3 separate regions of the Homo sapiens genome follow, and regions 1 and 3 are each linked to region 2. Evidence: promoter capture Hi-C in human tissues and cell types (Jung and others, 2019). All regions are on one chromosome and are shown on one strand. Each heading gives the region's core, a stretch centred on a gene start or on the middle of the fragment in contact. The rest is flanking DNA. Distances are from core to core; before and after follow the strand shown. Region 1 overlaps FBXO22 (F-box protein 22). Region 2 holds the start of SNUPN (snurportin 1). Region 3 overlaps UBE2Q2 (ubiquitin conjugating enzyme E2 Q2).

What was found. Contacts are between HindIII fragments. The study calls those that stand out against the background at their distance.
Region 1: a contact is called between a fragment that was not itself captured here and the fragment with the promoter of SNUPN in region 2, in 2 of the 25 tissues and cell types used here (IMR-90 fibroblasts and adrenal gland).
Region 3: a fragment that was not itself captured here is called in contact with the fragment with the promoter of SNUPN in region 2 in 1 of the 25 tissues and cell types used here (mesenchymal stem cells).

Annotation. Positions count from the first base shown.
Region 1 is chr15:75,920,067-75,922,946 of GRCh38, reverse strand. The region is part of intron 5 of FBXO22 (F-box protein 22); the gene reads right to left. Among named protein-coding and RNA genes, the nearest start is that of FBXO22, 18 kb to the right of the region's middle. The HindIII fragment of the contact is 3,498 bases long and covers 1-2,880 here.
Region 2 is chr15:75,624,353-75,627,397 of GRCh38, reverse strand. It overlaps SNUPN (snurportin 1), which reads left to right and starts at 1,673. Exons shown (of 9, transcript NM_005701.4): 1 at 1,673-1,732. RefSeq lists an enhancer at 1,305-1,494 and a silencer at 2,145-2,194. The HindIII fragment of the contact is 13,243 bases long and covers 1-3,045 here.
Region 3 is chr15:75,895,117-75,898,063 of GRCh38, reverse strand. It overlaps UBE2Q2 (ubiquitin conjugating enzyme E2 Q2), which reads right to left. Exons shown (of 13, transcript NM_173469.4): 12 at 1,003-1,069. It also overlaps the pseudogene RN7SL510P. Among named protein-coding and RNA genes, the nearest start is that of FBXO22, 7.3 kb to the left of the region's middle. The HindIII fragment of the contact is 4,691 bases long and covers 1-2,947 here.

The DNA.
Region 1 (2,880 bases), core at 77-2,576, 300 kb before region 2:
TCTCCCAATCCCGCTCCTCCTGTCCCAGTGTTCCTATTTCTGGTCTCTGCACCACCATCACCCTTGTCTCCTAGGATCAAAACTCAAAAGTAATTACTGAGGCTTCCCTTCTCTTTCACATCTAATCATTTGTTCATTTCCTCCAATTCATTCCCTAGTCCTCATGCCCTAGTGTTATTTCTTGCCTGGACTCTAAAGTGGTCTCCCGCTTCCAGTGTCTCCCCACACAGGAGGGCCACATTCACCTCTGCTCGATGACATCTGAGTAACAGCTACCATTTTCTGTGTACAGGAGCTAAGCCCAGACTCTTTAGCCTGGCCTGAATGCGCCCCACCCTTTGTTCCCATGACTTCCCTGCACATAACCTTTGCTTGCAAAATGATTACTATTTCTCCAACATGCTCTGGGATTTCCTGGCTCTGTGCCTGTGTTTCTATGTTCCTTCAGCCAGTGATATTACTCATCCATATCTCTCATATGCTTCCCATCCTTCAAGGGCTTAAATACCACCTGCTTCTGGAAGCCTCCTTGATCCCTCCCACTGGCAGAACCCCTACAGCAATCTACCCATTCTGCTCTCACAGAACACCTCACATACTCACTTGGGTTATGATTATGCAGTCAAGCACCACATAACACTTTGGTCAAGGACAGCCAGGCGTGGTGACACGCACAGTAAGCATATGCAACAGTGGTGCCAGAAGATTAACAGAGCTACAAAATTCCTACTGCCTAATGTGTAGCACAACGCATTACTCAAATGTCTGTGGTGATGCTGTTGTAAACAAGCCTATTGCAGTGCCAGTCGTATAAAAGTATAGCACATACAATCACGTACAATGCATACTTGGCAATGACAATGAATGACTATGTTACTGGCTTATGATTTACTATCCTATACTTTTAATTGTAATTTTAGAGGTTACCCCTCCTACTTATTAAAAAAAAAAAAAAGTTAACTGTAAAACAGCCTCAGGCAGGTCCTTCAGGACGTATTCCAGAAGGAGGCACTGTTGTCATAGGAAATGACAGCTCCACATGTATTACTGCCCTGAAGACCTTGCAGTGGGACGAGATGTGGAGGTGGAAGACAGTGATATTATCTTGACTCTGTATAGGCCTAGGCTAATGTGTGTGACTGTGTTTTAGTTTTTAACAAAAAGCTTAAAAAGTTAAAAAAAAAATTAAAGGTGGAGAAAAGCTTACAGAATAAGGATATAAATGGAAATTTTTTTTGTCTAGCTAAAGTTAATTTATTATTAAAGAACAATTTTATTTTATTTTTTTGAGATAGAGTCTCGCTGTCGCCCAGGCTGGAGTGCAGTGGTGTAATCTTGGCTTACTACAACCTCTGCCTCCCAGGTTCAAGCGATTCTCCTGCCTCAGCCTACAGTAGCTGGGACTACAGGCGCACACCACTATGCCCAGCTAATTTTTGTATTTTTAGTAGAGATGGGGTTTCACCATGTTGACCAGGCTTGTCTCAAATTCCTGATCGCAAGGGATCCACCTACCTCGGACCTCCCAAACTGCTGGGATTACAGGCATGAGCCACTGTGCCCGGCCAAACAAAAATGTTTCAATTAATTTAATGTAGCTTAAGCATACAGTGTTTATAAACTATATAGTAGTATACAGGGCTAGGCCTTCACATTCACTCACCACTCACTGACTCACCCCACACCAACTTCTAGTCTTGCAAGTCCCATTCATGTTAAGTGCCCTATAGAGGTATACTGTCTTTCATACCATGTTTTTACTGTACCTTTTTAATGTTTAGATATGTTCAGATACACCAATACTTACCATTGTGTTACAACTGCCTACAGTATTCAGTACAGTAACATGCTGTCCATGTTTGTAGTCTAGGGGCAATAGGCTACACTGTATAGCCTACACATATAGTAGGCTGTAACATCTAGGTCTGTGTAAGTACTATGACATTCACACAACAACAACATTGCCTAAAGATGCATTTCTCAGAACTCATCCCCGTCATTAAGCAACATATGACTGTATATGTATTCTTCATACCTTTTCTGGAATGTCACTGAGACAGAATCTACATCCAGTTATGTCACCTTTAACATGCTGAATAAATTTTTATTTATTTATTTATTTTTGAGACAGGGTCTCACTCTGTCACCCAGGCTGCAGTAGAGTGGCGTGACTTCAGCTCACGGCAACCTCCGCCTCTTGGGCTCAAGCAATCCTCCCACCTCAGCCTCCTAAGTAGCTGGGACTACAGGTGCGTGCCACCATGCTTGGCTAGTTTTTTAGTTTTTTTGTAGAGGTGAGGTCTCACTATATTGTCCAGGCTGGTCTCGAACTCCTGGGCTCAAGCGATCCTCCCGCCTCAGCTTCCCAAAGTACTGAAATTACAGGCATGAGCCACCATACCAGCCTGAATAAAATTAATGTAGGAGTTCTACATTATGAGCCAATTGAATATAGATAGTCATCTCGTCAACATCAACACATTGATCATCTTCTTCCTTCCTTGTACTAAATTTGCTGCCATAAATCTTCCCAGAATCTGGGCTATGTTGCCCTGGACTGGCTTACTCCAAGGCCTTCAATGACACTTGATGCTTTTACAGGCAGACTGCCAGGCAACACACAAAATGGTTCTCAAACCAACATGTCTGACCACAGCCATTCCTTTGAGTTTCAGACCTACTATTTGCTAACCACCTGACCAACTCTGAAAAAGACCTAGTTTGCTGAACTTTGTTCGCTCCAGCTAGCCTACCAATATCAAGTCTCATTATGTTATTACAAAATCACATAAGCTCAGCACATAGCCACATTTGCTCCTAAAATTCATTTTGCCTTTACACTTAACAATGGGTCAGTTTTAAGGGCACTATCTGACCTTT
Region 2 (3,045 bases), core at 424-2,923:
GTCAAAATTCCCTAGTGAAGTCAGGCCCTGGACTTCTCTTTTTTGTCAGTCTCATAAATCAGGCAGACATGAGCTTTTATTTGTGGATGCACCAAATAAATACCCTAGTGGACAGCTTTGCTCAGCCTGGCCACTGAAAGAGCCACCTAAATAAAATCTCAGGTCCAGGCCGGGTGCGGTGGCTCACGCCTTTAATCCCAGCACTTTGGGAGGCCGAGGCGGGCAGATCATGAGGTCAGGAGATCGAGACCATCCTGGCTAACACAGTGAAACCCCGTCTCTACTAAAAATACAAAAAAATTAGCCGGGCATGGTGGCAGGCGCCTGTAGTCCCAGCTACTCAGTAGGCTGAGGCAGGAGAATGGCGTGAACCCGGGAGGCGGAGCTTGCAGTGAGCGGAGATTGCGCCACTGCACTCCAGAGCCTGGGCGACAGAGCGAGACTCCATCTCAAAAAAATAAAAAAAAATCTCACGTCCAGAAAAATTGGCCTTCCAGGGCCCCAGAACCCTTTTTACCAGTCTAGTAATAGCCTTTCATCAGCCTAATTTCCTATTCTTTTTAGTCTGAATGTATGGTGTAATGTGCATAAAATACACAAGTCCAAATTTTAGCATTCCGTGGACGCAAAATGTGCCAAAGGTGGATACTTTGCTTCTGTCATACATCGGTAGTCAACTTCCCTATACATCAAACTTTCAGCAAATTCAAACATTTTCCTTGAAAGCTGTGTTACTTTGGCCAAATTACTTAACCTCTCTGAGCTTCAGTGTGTCTACTTCCTCATGTCATGATTAAGAGTTAATATCTACTGGCTTAAAAAAGAAAAAAAAGGAAAAAAATTAAATGAGATGATGGGTGTGAAGCAGGGATTGGCTGAATGTAAGCATTCAATAAATATTCAGTTTTAAAATTGTAATCTCAGCCTTCCCGCCCTGCAGAGGCTACACCCTGGCAGGACTTAATCTCCTAAATCTCTGCCGCTTACCCTAGTCTTTTGCACCAATTTAATCATTCCTTCACGCAGGGTCTACTGAGCGCCATCCCTTGTGCTGGACTCTGGCTACTTAAATAGGAATCAAGCCAGGTCCCTACCATTGCTCAGCCCGCAGCCGAGTGGGAAAGAAGCTCGCAAAAGCAGCAAACAGGCAGTAATCGAGGTATGTATCTGCTTTTGTTAAGGGCAAGTGGGGGAGCGAAGGTCTGTGTCTGAAACTTGGGTGTGAGGGGTTAGTTGGAGTAATCCAGGCAATTGGCACTGCCCGTTTAAGAGCACGGGCCCAAGAGGGGAAGGGGACTCCAGGTGAAGCCCTAAGGCCCGGGAAGATCTGCGGGAGGCGGCAGGGCCCAGGGCGTTGAATGCCCGGCCACAAGATCAGCCTCCTCCCATTGGCGAAAGGAGCCCCGAAGAGCTTGTGTTCAGGAGGGAGGCCTCGGCCTGGTCAAGTCATCTAGCAGGAAGAGTCCCGGACAGTGCAAAGCAAATGCAAGAAGACCCCCTCCCTAGCCGATGGGAAATGCCCCAGCCGTTGAAGGCGGAAATAACGGCCTGTAGGCAACGGAACTCCCAGCGTTCGCAAAGGAGGGAGGAGCCGGAAACTCAGGGCGCGAGGCCTGTGGGCCCAGCGGTGAGGCAGCAGCTGGGGGCGGGGGGAGGGCGGACCTAGCTTCCCAGGGCAGGTGATTCGTCGGCCCCGGTGGCGGCGGCGCGTGCGACGGTCACCTCGGTTTGGGTGAGTCCCTGGGTTCGAGCCCGGGCCCCGCCAGCTGCCGAGTTGCCTCTCGGTGCCGGACTGTGACTCCCTCTGGCCGGCCCTGCACTCTGGCCTCCTGGGACGTCATCTGGAGGGATAGAGCCAGGCCTGGGACTCCTTTTGGGAGAGTTTCCGTTCTTCTATTCCGTGCTGTCCGGCCAGGACCCCTCAGGGACTTCTGTGGGGCAGGGGCGAATCATGCATGGCCTAGATGACCCCATGCCTAGAAAAAGGCAGTGCGGGGCGGTGGCGGCGCGCACGGCCGAGTGAAGCAGATAGCGTCCCCGGGGCTGGAGCCCGGTAGCAGGGGTAGGGAAACGCGGAGGCTGCCAGGATGCGGACCCAGGGGACGCGAGGCGGGGGCGCCGGATGGGGAGACGCGAAGGAGGGGGAAGGGGATGGGGGAGGGGGCTAGACAGGGAGGGAGGGTGGAGCGTGGGCGGGGCCTGGGGCGGGTCGGACTTTAGGGAGTTGGAGCGGGGGTTACTGGTGCTAAGACCACCTGGGGCTAAGGTCCGAACACTTGGAGGCAGCACCATCCAAGGAATGGGTTGAAACAGCAGGAGCCCGGCGGGGCGCAGTGGCTCACGCCTGTAATCCCAGCACTTTGGGAGGCCGAGGTGGGCGGATCACCTGAGGTCAGGAGTTTGAGACCAGCCTGACCAACATGGTGAAACCCCATCTGTACTAAAAATACAAAAAAAATTAGCCGGGCGTTGTGGCGCGTGCCTGTAATCCCAGCTACTCGGGAGGCTGAGGCAGGAGAATCGCTTGAATCCGGGAGATGGAGGTTGCAGTGAGCCGAGATCATGCCACTGCACTCCAGCCTGGGCAACAAGAGCGAAACTCTGTCTCAAAAAAAAAACAACAACAACAAAGAAAAAACAAAACGAAACAGCAGGAACCCGCCAAGAACAGCCTTGAAGGAAGGTAAAGGAACCGCCCCAGTATCCAGGACATCAGTTTTTCTTTTTTTTTTCTTTTTGAGACGAAGTCCAGGCTGGAGTGCAGTGGCACGATCTCGACTCACTGCAAGCTCCGCCTTACGGGTTCAAGCCATTCTCCTGCCTCAGCCTCCCGAGCATCTGGGACTACAGGCGCCCGTCACCATGCCTGGCTAATTTTTTTGTATTTTTTTTTTTTTTTTTAGTAGAGACGGGGTTTCACTGTGTTAGCCAGGATGGTCTCGATCTCCTAACCTCAGGTGATCTGCCCGCTTCAACCTCCCAAAGTGCTGGGATTACAGGCGTGAGCCACCGCGCCAGGCCCAGGACATCAGTTTCAAAGGTTGT
Region 3 (2,947 bases), core at 249-2,748, 270 kb before region 2:
TCTTTGGATCTAATTTTGTGTGCTAGAAATTATTATTATGAAAACCTGGCCTTGTCCTCAAATTTTATCGTTTCTCTCTTCTGCTTGAAAATTTTGTTTTGAATACTATTTCCATAAGTAAGCAATCACTGAAAGAGTGACAAGTTTGCTTTGTCATTAAAATAAATGAGCACAAAACACAAATCTTAAGTCACAAACTGACACATTTCTAGCAAAGTAAAGAATACTTTACAGGCATGGTGGCTTGTGCCTACAGTCCAAGCTACTGAGGAGACTGAGGCAGGAGGATCACATCAGCCCAGGAACTTGAGGCTGCAGTCCACTATGATCACGCCTGTAAACAACCACTGCACTCCAGTTATAACAACAAGAACTCCATCTGTAAGGAGTTGCCTTTAACTCAGTTCCTAATATTTCAAGTAAGTAAAGTGAGTCATTCATTAATCTACTAAAAAAAAAAAAAAAGAAATCTTGATTCTGACTCTGAGATACCTAGGCCAAGTGTATAGGATACAAAAATTTTGACTGAAGTACAATGTTAAGGTTTTGTGGTGCAGTGGCTTACACCTGTAATCCCAGTACTTTGGGAGGCCGAGGCGGGCGGATCACAAAGTCAGGAGATCGAGACCATCCTGGCTAACACAGGGAAACCCGGTCTCTACTAAAAATACAAAAAAGGCACCTGTAGTCCCAGCTACTCGGGAGGCTGAGGCAGGAGAATGGCATGAACCTGGGAGGCGGAGCTGGCAGTGAGCTGAGATAGTGCCACTGCACTCCAGCTGGGGTGACAGAGCGAGACTCCGTCTCAAAAAACAAATAAAATAAAATAAAATAAAATAAATAAATAAATAAATAAAGATTTTGTATGCAGCACAAGTTTCTTTCACCATGGTAACAGCATTTTAAGAAACTAAAGCAAAAACAGAAAAATAAAATGGTAAGTATTAATACATTATCTAAAACTTCTTAAATGGCAATAAACACTTATTGAATTAAACATACCATTTTTCTCATGTATCTGTACAATGGAATTATAGGATTGTTGGGCTCTTGCTAGATTATATTGATTCTGAAAGAGAATTACACATTTTAAATCAAAAGTGTAATTAGGTGAAAATTATTACAATAAATTTATGAATGCATCACACTGTGCTTAAAAGAACATGGGAAACTGACTATCTCCATTTCAAAAACAATTTTAACTTAATAGCCTCATTTCTCAGTTTCATTATTCTCTACAATTTTATAAAAATAACAAAACCAAAATTGTACCCCAATAAAACTCAACAAGCCTCACAGTTCATTTTTATAAGTCTTCCTACCATTGGACAAGTACAAAGCTTTCTGGTTCTAGAGTCCGTCTCCATATTGCTGAATCAAGTTAAAGGATTATATCTGGATGTTAATAAAACTCAAACTGTCTTCACACAATTTCTATTTTTAAAAAAACTACAAAATATTACTTTCAGATAAGAAAATATTAAGCTTCCACAACTATACATATGAATGACATTTTAAGTTAGAAATCTAAAGAATGCCCATAATTGTCACCATGCTTACTAAAGGAGCCCTCTTTTGATAAAAATATACAATCTTTTTAAGGAGCCAAATCTAGGATTAATTTTGTCACCATAAGTACAACCAACCTATATCTTCGCTTCGAATTAATATACCAGGAGCACTCTCCATAGTGGTACCCATCTATCCACTATATTATGTGGCAGAAATTTTTGCATAATAAATTCACACAGCACAAGACTCAAAAATGTCTACATCCTAAGTGAAAACTCTCCCTCCTACTTGGTGCCCTGAACACCCAGTTTCCTCCCGTTCATCCCCCTTCCTCCACACAAGTTAACCACTATTACTAATTTCTTGTATGTCCCTCTTTAAGATTATTCATGTACAGCCCACTGTTATTAGCCACTGTCCCTGGCTTTCCTTCACTAACAGTTGCATGCTACAGACACTGGTCTGCCCCTTTTCTTGTCTAGCATATCTTGGAGAATGTTCCTTATCAGTATAGAACATACCTGTTTTAAACACTGAAATATTTCTATTATATGGATATTCAAATATTTAATCAGTCCCCTATTGGTGGACATCAGGGTTTCTCAATATTTTGCTGTTATAATGTTGCCAAGAGCAACCTTGTACGTATATCTGCTGAGTACTGGTAAAAATGTCCTAGAGTAGAGCTGCTGTGTCAAAAGATATATATGTGTAATTCTGAGATATTGCTAAATTGCCCTCTACATAACTGCACAAATGTGTCTGCCCACCAGCCATCTGTAAGAGTGCCTCGATGCAGCCTCACCAATGCAGTACTTCAAACATTTGTAGATTTCTGACAATATACTAGATGGACTCCCAGTATAGTTTTGATTTGTATTTCTATTGAGTGAGACTGAGCATGTCTCCATTATGTTCATGAGCCATTTATTTCTATTTCTGTAAACAGACTTTTTATACCCCCTTTTCCTATTTTTTTTTAACATGTTAAATTTATGTAAGGACTTTTCCTATTTTTCTACAGGGTAGTCTTTTTCAACATCTAAGAGCTCTTTAAAATAGTAAAGCCGGCCAGGCACGGTGGCTCACACCTGTAATCCCAGTACTTTTAGAGGCTGAGGCAGGTAGATCACCTGAGGCTGGGAGTTCAAGACCAGCCTGACCAACACGGAGAAACCCCGTCTCTACAAAAATACCAAATTAGCCAGGCGTGGTGGAGCACACCTGTAATCTCAGCTACTTGGGAGGCTGAGGCAGGAGAATCGCTTGAACCCAGGAGGCAGAGTTTGCAGTGAGCCCGAGATCGTACCATTGCACTCCAGCCTGGGCAACAAGAACAAAACTCCATCTCAAAATTTTTTTTTTTGAGACGGAGTCTCGCTCTGTCACCCAGGCTGGAGTGCAGTGGCACAATCTCGGCTCACTGCAAGCTCCG